Regions from separate parts of the Homo sapiens genome. Here region 1 is linked to region 2. Evidence: promoter capture Hi-C in human tissues and cell types (Jung and others, 2019). All regions are on one chromosome and are shown on one strand. The core of a region is centred on a gene start or on the middle of the fragment in contact, and the rest is flanking DNA. Distances in the headings are between cores, read along the strand shown. Region 1 holds the start of SUMO3 (small ubiquitin like modifier 3). Region 2 holds the start of KRTAP12-1 (keratin associated protein 12-1).

Region 1 (7,108 bases), core at 973-3,472, 140 kb after region 2:
AGCAAGTGAACTCGTGAGTTAAAAAGTGAAGCCCTAAAAACATGGGCCTCAGTTTGCTACAGTCAATCCTCCACCTCAGCTATCCAGGGAAGTCAGAACCATTCTCCTGCCTGACCTAAAAGCTCTTCTTTCCAGCACCACCGGGCCCCAGAGTCCACCTCTTCCCCTTCGTCAGAGCCCCAGAGGGCAGAGCTGCTCCCACATGGGCTCAGAGGGGACCCACCAGAAGCGGGGCCTGTGAGGTGGCAGCCACTCAGTCATTCTGGAATTAAACAAGTGTTTTCAACGGAACTGGAGCCTGAGATTGACCACATGGCAGAGCTAAGTGTAAATACTGCTGAGAAAATTAATATCATATGTATTTTATTACATTTACTCTTCATTAAGAGGAAGCCACCTACAAAAACATAAAGGACATTTATATTTGACCTAGTTTTAACAAGTATTTAAATATTCAAACAACCCCAGAGTGGGAGAACTTTGACTTCACTGGAGTCAAAATGTAAAAAGCAAAGGTCACCCCAAATGCCATCTGGATAGGGCAGGTTTCCCTGGAGTCTGACCACAGCAAGCAGAGTGCAGACTTCCATAGAGGCCGCGACCATGGTTCCTGACGGTTCCATCCCACTTCCCGCCAGTGTCTGGCACTGAGCCTCCACCCTCATCTGTAAAGGGAGGGTGGTCACCTCCAGGACCAGGCCAGTATCAGAGACAGCCTCTTTACAGAGCCTTCAGCTCTAGTCATCTTCCACTGGGATGTAACATAGAGGCCGACAGTGCACACCAAGGGCTTCGGAAAGGTTCTCTTTTTATGAACACTGGAGAATGCGACTACAGACCCTCCCGAGAAGGAATGGCCAGTGCACCTGAATGCAGGGTGCATACCCCAGGACTGAGACTGGAGGGAGGCACACCCCAGCATGGCAATGGGGGAGACTAAAGCCCACCCAAGGCTGGATAAGGAGGGGTGGGCGCGCATGGTGGGGGAGGCGCAATGCAGAGAAGTGGGCGCACACCGTGGGGCGTGATAGGGAGGGGTGGGCACACACTATAGGGGGCGTGATGGGGAGGGGTGGGCGCACATCGTGGAGGGGGTGATGGGGAGGGGTGGACGCACACTGGGGGTGTGATGGAAAGGGGGACGCGATGGATAGGGGTGGGCGCACACTGGGGGACGCGACGGGGAGGGGTGAGCACACACTGGGGGTGTGATGGAGAGGGCGACGCAATAGGGAGGGGTGGGCGCACACCAGGGACGCGATGATGGGGACGGGTGGGCGCACACCAGGTGGCATGATGGGGAGGAGTGGGTACACACCATGGGGGGCGTGATGGGGAGGCGTGGGCGTACACCGGGGGGCGCGATGGGGAGGGGTGGGCGCACACCGGGGGACGCGATGGAGGCGGTGGGTGCACACGGGGCGCGATGGGTGGGAGTAGGTGCACACTGAGGGCACGATTGGGGAGACACGAAGGAGAGGGGTGGGCGCACACTGGGGGACGCGATGGCCGGGACACGATGCGGAGAAGTGGGTGAATACCGGGGTCGCGATGGGCGCCCTGGAAGGACGGCAGTGCTGCTCACAGGGGCCAGGCCCCTCAGAGCGCGCCCCTTGGGGGTAACCCCAGACGCTTGTTCCCGAGCCGACTCCGTGCACTCGACACAGGATCCCGCACCCAGGGCGATGCCGGGGGAGAGGGCGACCCCAACCAGCAATGACTCAGGAGAGGAGCACGCAAAGACGCTTCGGGGACACTGCTGGGGCGGGATCCGAGGGCGCCGCGCTCTGCAGGAGCAGCAGCGCGGGGCCCGACACCGGGCGCTCAAGGAGGCGCTGGGCGCGCGCCTTCCCAGCTGGGGAGGAGACGGGCGTGGAGCGGAGGCGTGGCCAGGCCCGGAGGGGGCGGAGCTCGCGGCACAGCGCGCTTCGCGGGGGCAGAGGGGGCGCACCTTGGGCGGGCCCACTTAGGGGCGGGGCTCTAGAGGGCGGGGAGGGGCGGAGCCTGTCAGGGGCGGGACGCGGGGCGGAGTCGGGGTGGGGGCGGAGCCGGGCTGGGGGCGGGACGCCCGCGATAGACGCGCGTGCAGGCGGGGTCGCCGCGCTTACCTTGGGCTTCTCCTCGGACATGGCTGCGCGAGCGGCGCGGGGAGGCGGCGCGGGGGAAGCAGCGCGGAGCGGGCGAGTCACGCTCTCGGCCCCGCCGCTCTCCCGCCGCAACTGTGCGCGGGGCCGCGCTTTATCCCCCAAATCCCGGCGCACCCGTTGGCCGGCACGGGGGTCACGTGGCTGCGCGCGTTCACGAGGCGCGCTCCCCGGGGCGTCGGGCGCGCGCAGGCCGGGCCGCGGCTCTGGGCGGTTGGAGATGCGTCACGGGGCGGGTCCCGCGCGACCCCGTCGGGCGCGGAAGCCCTAGGGCGCTGTGGGGCGCGGGCCAGGAGCGTTTACGGGGAGCCCGGGCCCTGGGGACCCTTGCCCGCCTCCCCGCGTCGCCCGGGCCCCGACTCCTTTCCTGGGGGCCGCGTTCCTGGGGCGCCGGGAAGTGAGGCCGGGGCCGCCGCCCATGGCCGCAGGGACCTGGGGCGGAGGAGGGAGGACGCTGGGGGTGACGTTCCCTCTCAGGAGCCGCGGACAGAGCGGAGAAGGCGGCCCGCGGGGTCCCGTCCGCGGGGGCCGCGCGAATCGGGCCAGCACCCTAGACGATTGGGGGCGCCACCCGCCTCCCTGCCGCCGCGGTTTCCTGTCAGCCCCAGGCCGGGCTCCTTTGGCCAACGCTCCTACGGGGCTGCCCCGGGCCCTCCACACCCGTCCTCAAGAAGACCCGTTTTACCTGTGAAGAAACTGAGGCACTGGGAGGTCAAACCACCCCCAGGTCAGCGCTGGTGAGCGGCGCCGAGCTTGGCCAGGCCGCCACGTCGGCGAGCGCGGGCAAACCCAGGCTGGACGCCGCCAGTGCCGGCGGAACGGGGACCTCGTGGACGCGGGAAACGCGCTGGGCCGGCAGGACGGCCTCCCCGGACTTGCGGGCGCCATTCCTGGGGTGCCTGGCCCGCCCCGGCCTCCATGTCTGTGATCCCAGGGCCTCGGATGGAACGGACCTGAGGGCGGACACCCCTGCGTCCCTCAGGAGTGCCCGGGTGGTGCCAGCCGGGGCGTGGCGGAGGTCTCATCTGATGGTGAGCCCGGCCGAAGGCGGGGGAGGCCGCACTTCAGGCTCAGCTGGGAAATGGCAGGGCCTGGATTTGAACCTAAGCGTCTGAGCCGTTTCTGTCCTGCCTGGGAAAGGCTCAGCCAACTGAGCAACGTCGCAAAGCCATGGAGACAAGTCTTCATGGACCATAACTTCACAAACCGTCTTCTACTCAAAAATTCACTTTCTTGGCTAGAGCCCCCACTTAGGAGGGGGAAGGCTGCTGAAGTCTTTCGGGGAGAGGGTCTGAGAGTCAGCCCCAGTCCCAGGCAGGTCATAAGGTGTGGTCCCTTCCTTCTGGAACCTGGAGCCCAGGGCCTCAGCAGAGGATGTGGAGGTGGGTGGCCAGCTCAGACGGTCCTGGGAGGGGGCTCCGCAACCAGCCCCTTCCGAGGGGACGTGGCGCCTCAGAGCCCACAGATTGCTGGCCCTGGAAGTGCCCTAGGGCAGGCAGGGTTCAGAGAGTTATCGACTCCAAGACACCGTTAATCATAAAACAACACGACCGTAGGTAGCACAGACACACTAAACTCCGGCAGGCTGTGGATGACGGCAGCCCGCTTCAGTGTTGTGGAAGTGAGAAACACGCAGCTTAGAAATCATGAGACACAGAACCCAAATGTGTTACCGCTCGAAATTACGCCAGTTGCTGTGTCACGAAGTGATGCGTGACTACAGTCATGGATAAGGGAAAAAGAGGCTCAGATGACATTAGGTTTTAAAAAGCCAGGCTATAAGACAATGGTGGTCTGAATTCAATTCATGCTGTGTCTGTCTCCCACACTGTGACCTGCCCCGAATCCTTCATGTGACAGCAAAGATGCAAAAAGGCTCTGTCGCAGCTGTGGGGACACAAAGGACACCGCTGGTGGACCGAACGCCAAGAGGTTTCTGAAGGACACAGCCAAAGGGGATCGAATGGACGGAGGAACCAGAGCTCAGGAAAAACCGTGGCCTACCACGAGCACAGGGTAAAGAACCCAAATGGCCAGAGCCCCTCCGGAGGGTCGCCACACCTGGCGATGGTCCCAACAAGAAGACTCATGAGAAGGCAGGGAACTGGCAAATGAGTAACAGCATTGCTGACATGAAAGCTCGACCCACATGTGACTAGGAGAGGGGTCCTGGCTGAGGACGCAAAGAACTGCGAGACAAAGTCACAGGACTCTCCCATGATGGAGAAGTTAAGAGAGGAAAGGTCAGGGCTGGGCTGGGTGGCTCATGCCTGTAATCCCAGCACTTTGGGATGCTGAGGCTGGTGGATTACAAGGTCAGGAGTTCGAGACCAGCCTGGTCAACATGGTGAAACCCCGTCTCCACAAAAAAATTAGCCGGGCCTGGTGGCGCATGCCTGTAATCCCAGCTGCTTGGGAGGCTGAGGCAGGAGAATCGCTTAAACCCAGGAGGCAGAGGTTGCAGTGAGCTAAGATCGTGCCGCTGCACTCCAGCCTGGGCAACAGGGTGAGACTCCATTTCAAAAAAAAAGAAAAGAGAGAGGGAAGGTTGGAAGGCCGAGACACCGGGCATCAGTACAGGAAGGGCTACGTCCACCTGACAGGAGCTGCAGGAGAAGGTGGAAAAAAGGAAACCAGGACAAAATCAAAGACAGAATTGGAGAAAATATCTCTGAGGCCAGGCACGGTGGCTCACGCTTGTAATCCCAGCACTTTGGGAGGCTGAGGCAGGCGGATCACCTGAGGTCAGGAGTTTGAGACCAGCCTGAGCAACATGGTGAAACCCCATCTCTACTAAAAATACAAGAATTAGCTGAGTGTGGTTGTGTGTGCCTGTAATTCTGGCTCCTTGGAAGCCTGAGGCTGGAGAATCAGCTTGAACTCAGGAGGCAGAAGCTGCAGTGAGCCAAGGTCGCACCACTGCACTCCAGCCTGGGCAACAGGGCAAGACCCTATCTCAAAGAAAAAGTAAAAATAAGAAATTTCTCTGAACTAAAGAAATATTTGACTCCATAAATGGAAAGGGCCCCTGAGTATCCAATGGCTGAGTGAGAAGACTGACACAGATGCTTGGCATGTGAGGAGAAATCCCTGAGGCGTTCAGAGACGTTTCTACTTACAGTTAGGGAGGACTGGTTGCCTCAGACAAACCCAACAAAAATAGCCCAAAAATCAGTATAAAATATTCTTTAAATCTGTTTAAGGCTATCAGCTACCAAAAGAAGTCTTTCTGTGAGGGGCAAAGACCTTCCCCCACCTCAAAAAGAAAAGGGAAGAGTTTTTTTCCTTTGAGGCACTTGGTGATTAGTATCCTGTGTTAGCCTAGACTTCCATAAAAACATACAGACCGGGGGCCGGACGCGGTGGCTCACGCCGGTAATCCCAGCACTTTGAGAGGCTGAGCCAGGCAGATCACCTGAGGTCAGGAGTTTGAGACCAGCCTGAACAACATGGAGGAACCCCATCTCTACTAAAAATACAAAATCAGCCGGGCATGGTGGCGCATGCCTGTAATCCCAGCTACTCGGGAGGCTGAGGCAGGAGAATCGCTTGAACCTGGGAGGCGGAGGTTGTGGTGAGCCAAGATAGCACCATTGCACTGCAGCCTGGGCAACAAGAGTGAAACTCTGTCTCAAAAAAAAATAAATAAATAATACAGACTGGGCAGCTTAAACCATTGATAGTTATTTCCCAGCCTCCAGACAGTTCTAGAGACTGGAAGCCCAAAATCAGTGAGCCATCAGGGTTGGTGTCCGGTCAAGCCTCTCCTCCCAACTTGTATGCAGCCAACTTGGCGTGTTCTCACAATGGCCTTTCTGCTGTGTCTGCAGAGAGGGAGAGATCTCTGGTGTATCTTCCTCCTTTTGCAAAGACACCAGTCCTCTGGGATTAGGGCCCCACCCTTATCACCTCAGTTAACCTTAATCACCTCTTTAAAGGTTCTGTCTCCAAATGAAATCACATTGGAGGTCAGGGCTTCAACATGTGAATGCTGGGGGGACACAATTCAGTCTCACATATGCAGTGGAAAGAAGTTGACACACTGAGCAGAGCTTTTGCATCTCCTAGGGTTGGGGAGACAATAATTGGTGACAGCCCACAAGATAGGGAGACTCTGATGAGTGACCCAGACCTTCAGCTGAGAGCACTGAGGGCTGCAATAGGGGAGGAAGGCTGAGGGGTGAGTAGATCGTCCCTCTCAAAGTCTGAAACCAAGCTTCCAAAGGGCTGACTCCCAGACTAAGTTGATCTGCTCTCTTTCCCACAGCCAGCCCAAAGCAAAAGGAAATATGCAGAGGTAAATAGCATCATCCAGGGCCTCAAATTAACTAAAATATTTCCATATACAATATCCAGATTTAAAGTTTACAAAGAAAACCAGGAGACAAATGATCCAAAACCAAAAAATATATATATAAATAAAGTAGGAATAATTCCATGGGATTATCATGTCAACAGGATATTGACATTATCATACACTTTAAGGTAATGTGATTAATATGTTCAAGAAAATAGATTATGAGATGGAAATGTTCAGCAGAGAAGTGGGGTATATAAAAAACAATTTAATGGAAATTAAAAAAACAATAGCTGAAGTTATAAATTCAATGGATGGGTTTGAAACAGATTAGACACAGTGAAAGAGATGATTAATGAACTGAAAGATAGGTCAGAAGAAAATATTCAGGCTGGGTGCAGTGTAATCCCAGCACTTTGGGAGGCGGAGGTGGGTGGATCACCGGAGGTCAGGAGTTTAAGACCAGCCTGGCCAATATGGCAAAACCCCATCTCTACTAAAAATACAAAAAATTAGCCAGGCATGGTGGTGGGCACCTGTAATTTCTTGAACCCAGGAGATGGAAGTTGCAGTGAGCTGAGATCACGCCATTGCACACTAGCCTGGGCAACAGAGCAAGACTCTGTCTCAAAAAAAAATTGATCAAAGGTAACAAAACACAGATTAC
Region 2 (6,263 bases), core at 3,546-6,045:
AGTGTGCATTGACAGCCTGGACCACAGTGTTCTGAGCTGCAATCGCCTGCAGAGTGACATTTGCAGTTTGCCTCAGAGCATCTTCAAAGCTCTTGGCTAGAGACTCAGTTTTAACTTGTTCTTGTTTTTCCTCTTGTGCAAGGCAAGCTGCAATTTCTTCACATGGTCGTTCCCTTATAGAAGATGAGGATGCTTCTTCTGAAAGTGCAGGTGTGGGTTTTCCTTCATCAATTGCAGGGTGATCAGTTTTTAAAGATTCCTCATGCTGAACCCCAGGGACCAACACTGTATCACCTGCGGTTGCTGAAGCTGGAGTATCTCCCTTTTGTTTTTGGAGTTGTGAGGCAGGCTGTTTAAATTCTTTTGTTACTTCTGATACACTAGAGATTTTTAGTGGACCAGACTGAGTTGATTTCTTTGGCAATGGAACATTATAAGGTGCAGAACCAAGAACCACCTCGAAGAGTTTGTCTGAGTAAGGTATGGTTTTCTCTACTCTTTCTCGGAAATGGGAAGCCCATTTGGCATATAGGATAGTGCCACCAATACCTCCACCAAAAAACAAAAGGCCAGCTCCAGCAATGTTGCCAGTAGTCAACCACAGAGCTGCCTGAAGTAGAGTATCGGCGGCATGGTCACAGTGGACGGAGGACTAACTTCCCATAGAGACAACTCTGGGCCACAGCGGTCACACTCGATAACTGACAGGCCCGCAGTATCTGTCGAGCGGACGGTGCTGCTGGTGGATGCGGGAGCTGCCATGGCGGCACGAGTAAGTGGAGGCATGTGTACATATGTCAAGGATGCCTATTTTTATCACTCCTATTGATATGGTTTGGATCTGTGTCCCCACCCAAACTTGAAATGTAATCCCCAGCGCTGGAGGTGGAGCCTGGTAGGAGGTGATTTGATCATGAGGGCCATTTCTCATGAATGGTTTAACACCATCCCTCTTGGTGGTATTGTCATGATAATCAGTTCTTGTGAGATCTGGTTGTTTAAAAGTGTGTGGCATCCTCACCCCACCCACACTGCTCCAGAATGTGAAGCACTGGTGCCCCTTTTGCCTTCTGCCATGACTGTAAGCTTCCTGAGGCCTCCCTAGAAGCAGAAGCCTCTATGGTTCCTGTATAGCCTGCAGAACCATAAGCCAATTAAACCTCTTTTCTTTATAAATTACCCAGTCTCAGGTATCTTTATAGCAATGTAAGAATGGACTAATACACCTATTCAACATAGTACTGGAAGTCCAATCCAGTGTAATCAGGTAAGAGATAGAAATAAAAGCTGTCCCAATTGGAAGAGAGGAAGTCAAATTGTCCCTCTTTGCACATGACATGATTTTATATTTAGAAAAATCTAAAGACTCCACCAAAAAACTATTAGAACTGATAAACAAATTTAGTAAAGTTGCAGGATACAAAATCAACATATAAAAATCAGTAGTGTTTCGATACACCAATAACAAACTAGCTGAAAAAGTAAGCAAAAAGGCAATCCATGAAGGCTAAAACAACTCCATCTTGGATGCTAATCTGCCATATGGACTTCTAGTTAACCTGTTCTGGGAAGGCCTCTAAAATTTCCAGTTTATCTACTGTTCCTTGTATAAGAGCACATACTATAAATCCTGCTTCAAAACAACCTTGACGTTATCCTACTTCAATTGGTCTACAGAGCCCTTCTAAATCACATATACCCTTTCCTTATGGTATATAAGCCTTGGGTCTGGAGGGGTAATGGCACAGGGATCCACCAGCTTATCTTACCACCACCCAAGACACAGACATGGCTTCTGTTTTAAGTCCTTATTAAATGTTTCTTTCTGAGAAACTGGATTTGTCAGCCTCTTTCTGTGGCCTCTCAGCTTCCTTGAACTTTGGGGGTAGGTTTGCATAGACCTGCCCATGGAACACAATCTCATTCACAATAGCTATTTTAAAAATAAAATACCTGGCAATAAATATAACCAAGGATGTGAAAGACCTCTGCAAAGAAAACTACAAAACACTGATAAAATAAATTGAAGAAGACACAAACAAATGGAAAGACATTCCATGTTCATGGATCAGAAGAAATGATATTGTTAGAAAGATCATACTATCCAAAGCAATCAACAGACTCAATGCAATCTCTATCAAAATGCCAATGACATGTTTCACAGAAGTAGAAAAAACAGTCCTAAAATTCATATGGAACCAAAAAGGACCCTGAATAGCCAAAGTTATCCTGAACAAAAAGAACAAACCTGTAGGTATCACACCGCTTGACTTCAAAATATATTACAAGGCTAAACAGCATAGTATTGGTATAAAACCAGACACATAGATCAATGGAACAGAATAGAGAACCCAGAAATAAATCCATATATTTACAGCCAATTGATTTTCAACAAAGGTGCCAAGAACATACAATAGAGAAAGGACACCCCTTCAATAAATGGTGCTGGGAAAACTGGATAGCCACATGCAGAAGAATGAAACTGGATCCCTACCTCTCATCATATACAGAAATCAACTCAAGATGTATCAAAGCCTTAAACATAAGACCGAAAACCATAAAGCTACTAGAAGAAAACATAAATGAAATGCTCCAGGACATTGGTCTAGGCAAACAGTTTATGGCTAAGACTACAAAAACACAGGCAACAAAAACCAAAATAGACAAATGAGATTATATTAAACTGAAAAGCTCTGCACAGCAAACGGAACAATCAACAGAGTGAAGAGACAACCTGTGTAATGGGAGAAAATATTTGTAAACTATGCATCTGACAAGTGACTAATATCCAGAATATGTAAGGAACTCAAACAACTCAACAACAACAACAAAACAAATAATTCCATTAATAAATGGGCAAAGCACCTGAATAGGCATCTCTCAAAAGAAGACATACAAATGGCCAACAGGTATATTAAAAAAAACTCAACATCACTAATCATCAGGGAACTTCAGATCAAAACTACAATGAGATAGCATCATCTTACCCCAATTAGAATGGCTATTATCAAAAAGACAAAAAATAACAGATGCTGGTAAAGATGTGGAGAAAAGGGAACTCTTATACATCATTTGTGGAAGTGTAAATTAGTACAGCCATTATCAAAAACGGTATACAGATTTCTCAGAAAACTAAAATAAAACTACCATACTATCCAGCAATCCTGCTACTATTTATTCAAAGGATAGGGAATTGGTGTATCAAAAAGATACCTGCACCCCCATGTTTATTGCAGCACTATTCACAATAGCCAAGATACAGATTCAACCTAAATGTCTATCAATAAATAAATGAATCAAGAAACTGTGGTATATATTTACAATGGAATCTTATTCGGCCATAAAAAAGAATGAAGTCCTGCCATTTGCAGCAACATGGATGGAACCGAAGGTCATTAAAGACAAATATTACATGTTCTCACTCACATGTGGGAGTTCACAAAGTTGATCTCATGGAAGTAGAGAGTAGAATGATATTACCAGAGGTGAAGAACGGTGTGTGTTAGAGGAGAAGTGAGTTTGGTTAATGGGTACAAACATACAGTTACACAGAAAGAATAAGTTCTAATATTTGATAGCAGCATAGGGTGACTACAGTTAACAATGTATTGTATGTCTCAAATCAGCTAGAAGAGAGAGTGTAAAATGTCCTCAACACAGAGAAATGATAGACAAGGTGATGAATATCCTGATTTCATCATTACGTATCCTCTGTGTGTAAAGTATTTCATATGCCCCATAAATATGTAAACATATTATGTATCAATTTTTAAAAAGTGCCATATGTAGATCAGTGATGGGAGTGTGTGCTGCAGAACTAATCCAGTTCTGTAAACCTGAGATCCTCCGCGACCCGGGAAGCAGGACATCCACCAACCACATGGGAAAGCCCGATCCTCAGTGCTCTGAGGCTTTGGCCATCAATGCAGGGCTTGCTGGCCTGGAGCAGGAGTGGACAGCCAGTGGGGAAGCGAGGCCACTCCACCACAGGCGGGTAAGTCACCGCTGTGGCCACTGCAGCTGGGCCCCAGGAGCCCTGGGAGAGACCACATGGGCATCTGCAGCCGCGCCCTCCACCCGGGACACCACCTTCTGATGAGCACTGGGTGAAGGGATCACTGAAGAGGGTTTAGCAGCAAATTCTATGTAATCAGCAGAATAGATAGCGGGGAGTATAGAAATAAAAAAGAGAGACAAGAAACGCAGAGTTGCATGGGGAAAGCTGGTTTATTTGACTCTCATGGGGTCAGAGAATGACTCTGGGACCCCAGACTTCCCTGGGGGGATAGGCAAGTTCAGCCAGGGCTCCAGATCATTCTATTATATTCTCGATCCAGAATTCAGAGGGTTCACTGAGCATGCTTTTCACCTGCACCATGTGCAGAAGACCAACTGAGGACTCATCCAGGGAGTGTACAGGTGTGGCCTCATCTGCACTGGGAGCAGCGGGTCTGGAGATTCATGCTCAGCAGCAGGAAGGGGTGCTGCAGGAGATGGGTCTGCAGAGGACGCTGGTGCAGGAAGGCTGGCAGCACCCAGAGGACTGGCAGGAGGGAGCCGCATACACGACGGGCCTGCAGCTCACGGGCACGCACACAGAGGACTGGCATCTCACGGGCACACACACGGCTGGCTTGAAGCTCACGGGCACGCACACGGAGGACTGGCAGCCCACGGGGATGTAACAGGATGCCTGGCAGGGGCTGGGCGCGCAGCAGGCTGGCTGGCAGCCCGAGGAGCAGCTGGTGTGGCACATGGTGGCGTGTGGCTGGATAAGGTCGAGGCAGAGGGCAGTGATGTCTGGGGATGGCCTCCCTGGGTAGCCTTTATACCTGGACCCAGGCATCCCCACAGCACAGAAGCACACACCTGTTGTCTTCCTTGTTTTTCTTCCTCAAGGCTGTTTCCTGGAACTCAGTTTTCTGTCGTAGATGATGTTTTTTATCTGGCCCTTTGTTTCGTGACTAATTGCACCCTCTTCAAGCTCTTGTTACATTTGGAAACCTGCCCAAATTTATCAGTGATGCACAGGCAGTTTTAGCTCCACCTGCCTGATATCTGCCTCCCTTCGTTAGTTCTACGCTGAAGCAGACATGAGTGGTACCCAAAAGAGCTCCTCGAACCGCAACTTCTGTTGCATCAACCAGAAACTTTGGGGAAGAGACCAGAACTGAATATAGACAATGAAATCATACTGGGGAACCTGCTGGAGTGAGTGATGCAAAGCTGGCTACTCTATCAACTATACAGTTGAGATTTAGGAGATGCTCGTTTTCAGGCAGCCGTCAACCAGCAGTGCAGACTGTGCTTCCTGAGAGAGAAGAAACTTAGGAGATAAACTCCCATTTCCCAGCTCTCTGCTGGGGCAGGCTTCCAAAATGCAGTGTCACCTTCCAAAATGCAGTGTCACCAGCCGGAGTCAGAGCAGAATACAGTGACCCAACTCTGCCGAGGAGGAAGGGGCCAGCGCTCAAGCAGCTGAAGCCCTGGAGTCCGAGGAGCAGAGAAGCGGAAAGAAGGATCCGTGTGGAGAGCAGGCCCCACACTGTGGAAGCTGACTGTGAATCTGTGGAACGGGGCAGGGCTGTGCATTCCCAGGGCAAGGCAACCACAGGCTCACCAGAGAGAAGCTGCTAGAGGATTGAGAGTGAAGCCCCCCTCCAGTCCCCACGTCGACATCCAGCCGAGACCCCCTACAGCCCGGCACCAAATGAGTAAGGACCACAGACTACAGTGAGACCCGCCTAGGCCAGCCCGAACAAAGCCTAAACCAATTCAGAATAGGATTTTTAGGGAAGACAGTTTGGAATGTGAGTCCCACCAAGATACAGAGTGTTCCAAGTTGTAGATGCTTCCCAGAGATCCACCCTAGCAAAGTGTTGAACAAAAACTGCACAAGATTAAGGTCATTCTCCAGTAACTGACGGCTAGAACAAAAATCAGAAACATGATACAGCTCAGAGTCTGTAAATGCATTATTATGATACCTCATACACAATCAAAATCATCAGATATTGACCAGGCACGGTTGTTTATGCCTGTAATCCCAGCACTTTGGGAGACCAAGATGGGAAGATTGCTTGAGGCTAGGAGTTTCAGACCAGCCTGGGCAACATAGTGAGACTCTGTCTCTACAAAAAAATGGTTAAAAATTAGCCAGACATGGTGGTGCATGCTTGTGGTCCCAGCTACACGGTAGGTTGAGGCAGGAGGGTCTATTGAGCCTGGGAGGTTGAGGATGCCATGAGTTATGATCACACCAC

What was found. Contacts are between HindIII fragments. The study calls those that stand out against the background at their distance.
Region 1: a contact is called between the fragment with the promoter of SUMO3 here and the fragment with the promoter of KRTAP12-1 in region 2, in 1 of the 25 tissues and cell types used here (mesendoderm cells).

The regions. Positions count from the first base shown.
Region 1 is chr21:44,815,840-44,822,947 of GRCh38, forward strand. It overlaps SUMO3 (small ubiquitin like modifier 3), which reads right to left and starts at 2,223. Exons shown (of 4, transcript NM_006936.3): 1 at 2,109-2,223. The coding sequence starts at 2,129. RefSeq lists an enhancer at 1-75 and silencers at 1,755-1,954, 2,135-2,714, 2,735-2,834. The HindIII fragment of the contact is 28,474 bases long and covers 1-7,108 here.
Region 2 is chr21:44,677,368-44,683,630 of GRCh38, forward strand. It overlaps KRTAP12-1 (keratin associated protein 12-1), which reads right to left and starts at 4,796. Exons shown (of 1, transcript NM_181686.2): 1 at 4,209-4,796. The coding sequence starts at 4,756. The coding sequence ends at 4,466. All of the region lies in intron 1 of TSPEAR (thrombospondin type laminin G domain and EAR repeats), which reads right to left. It also overlaps the pseudogene IMMTP1. The HindIII fragment of the contact is 13,337 bases long and covers 401-6,263 here.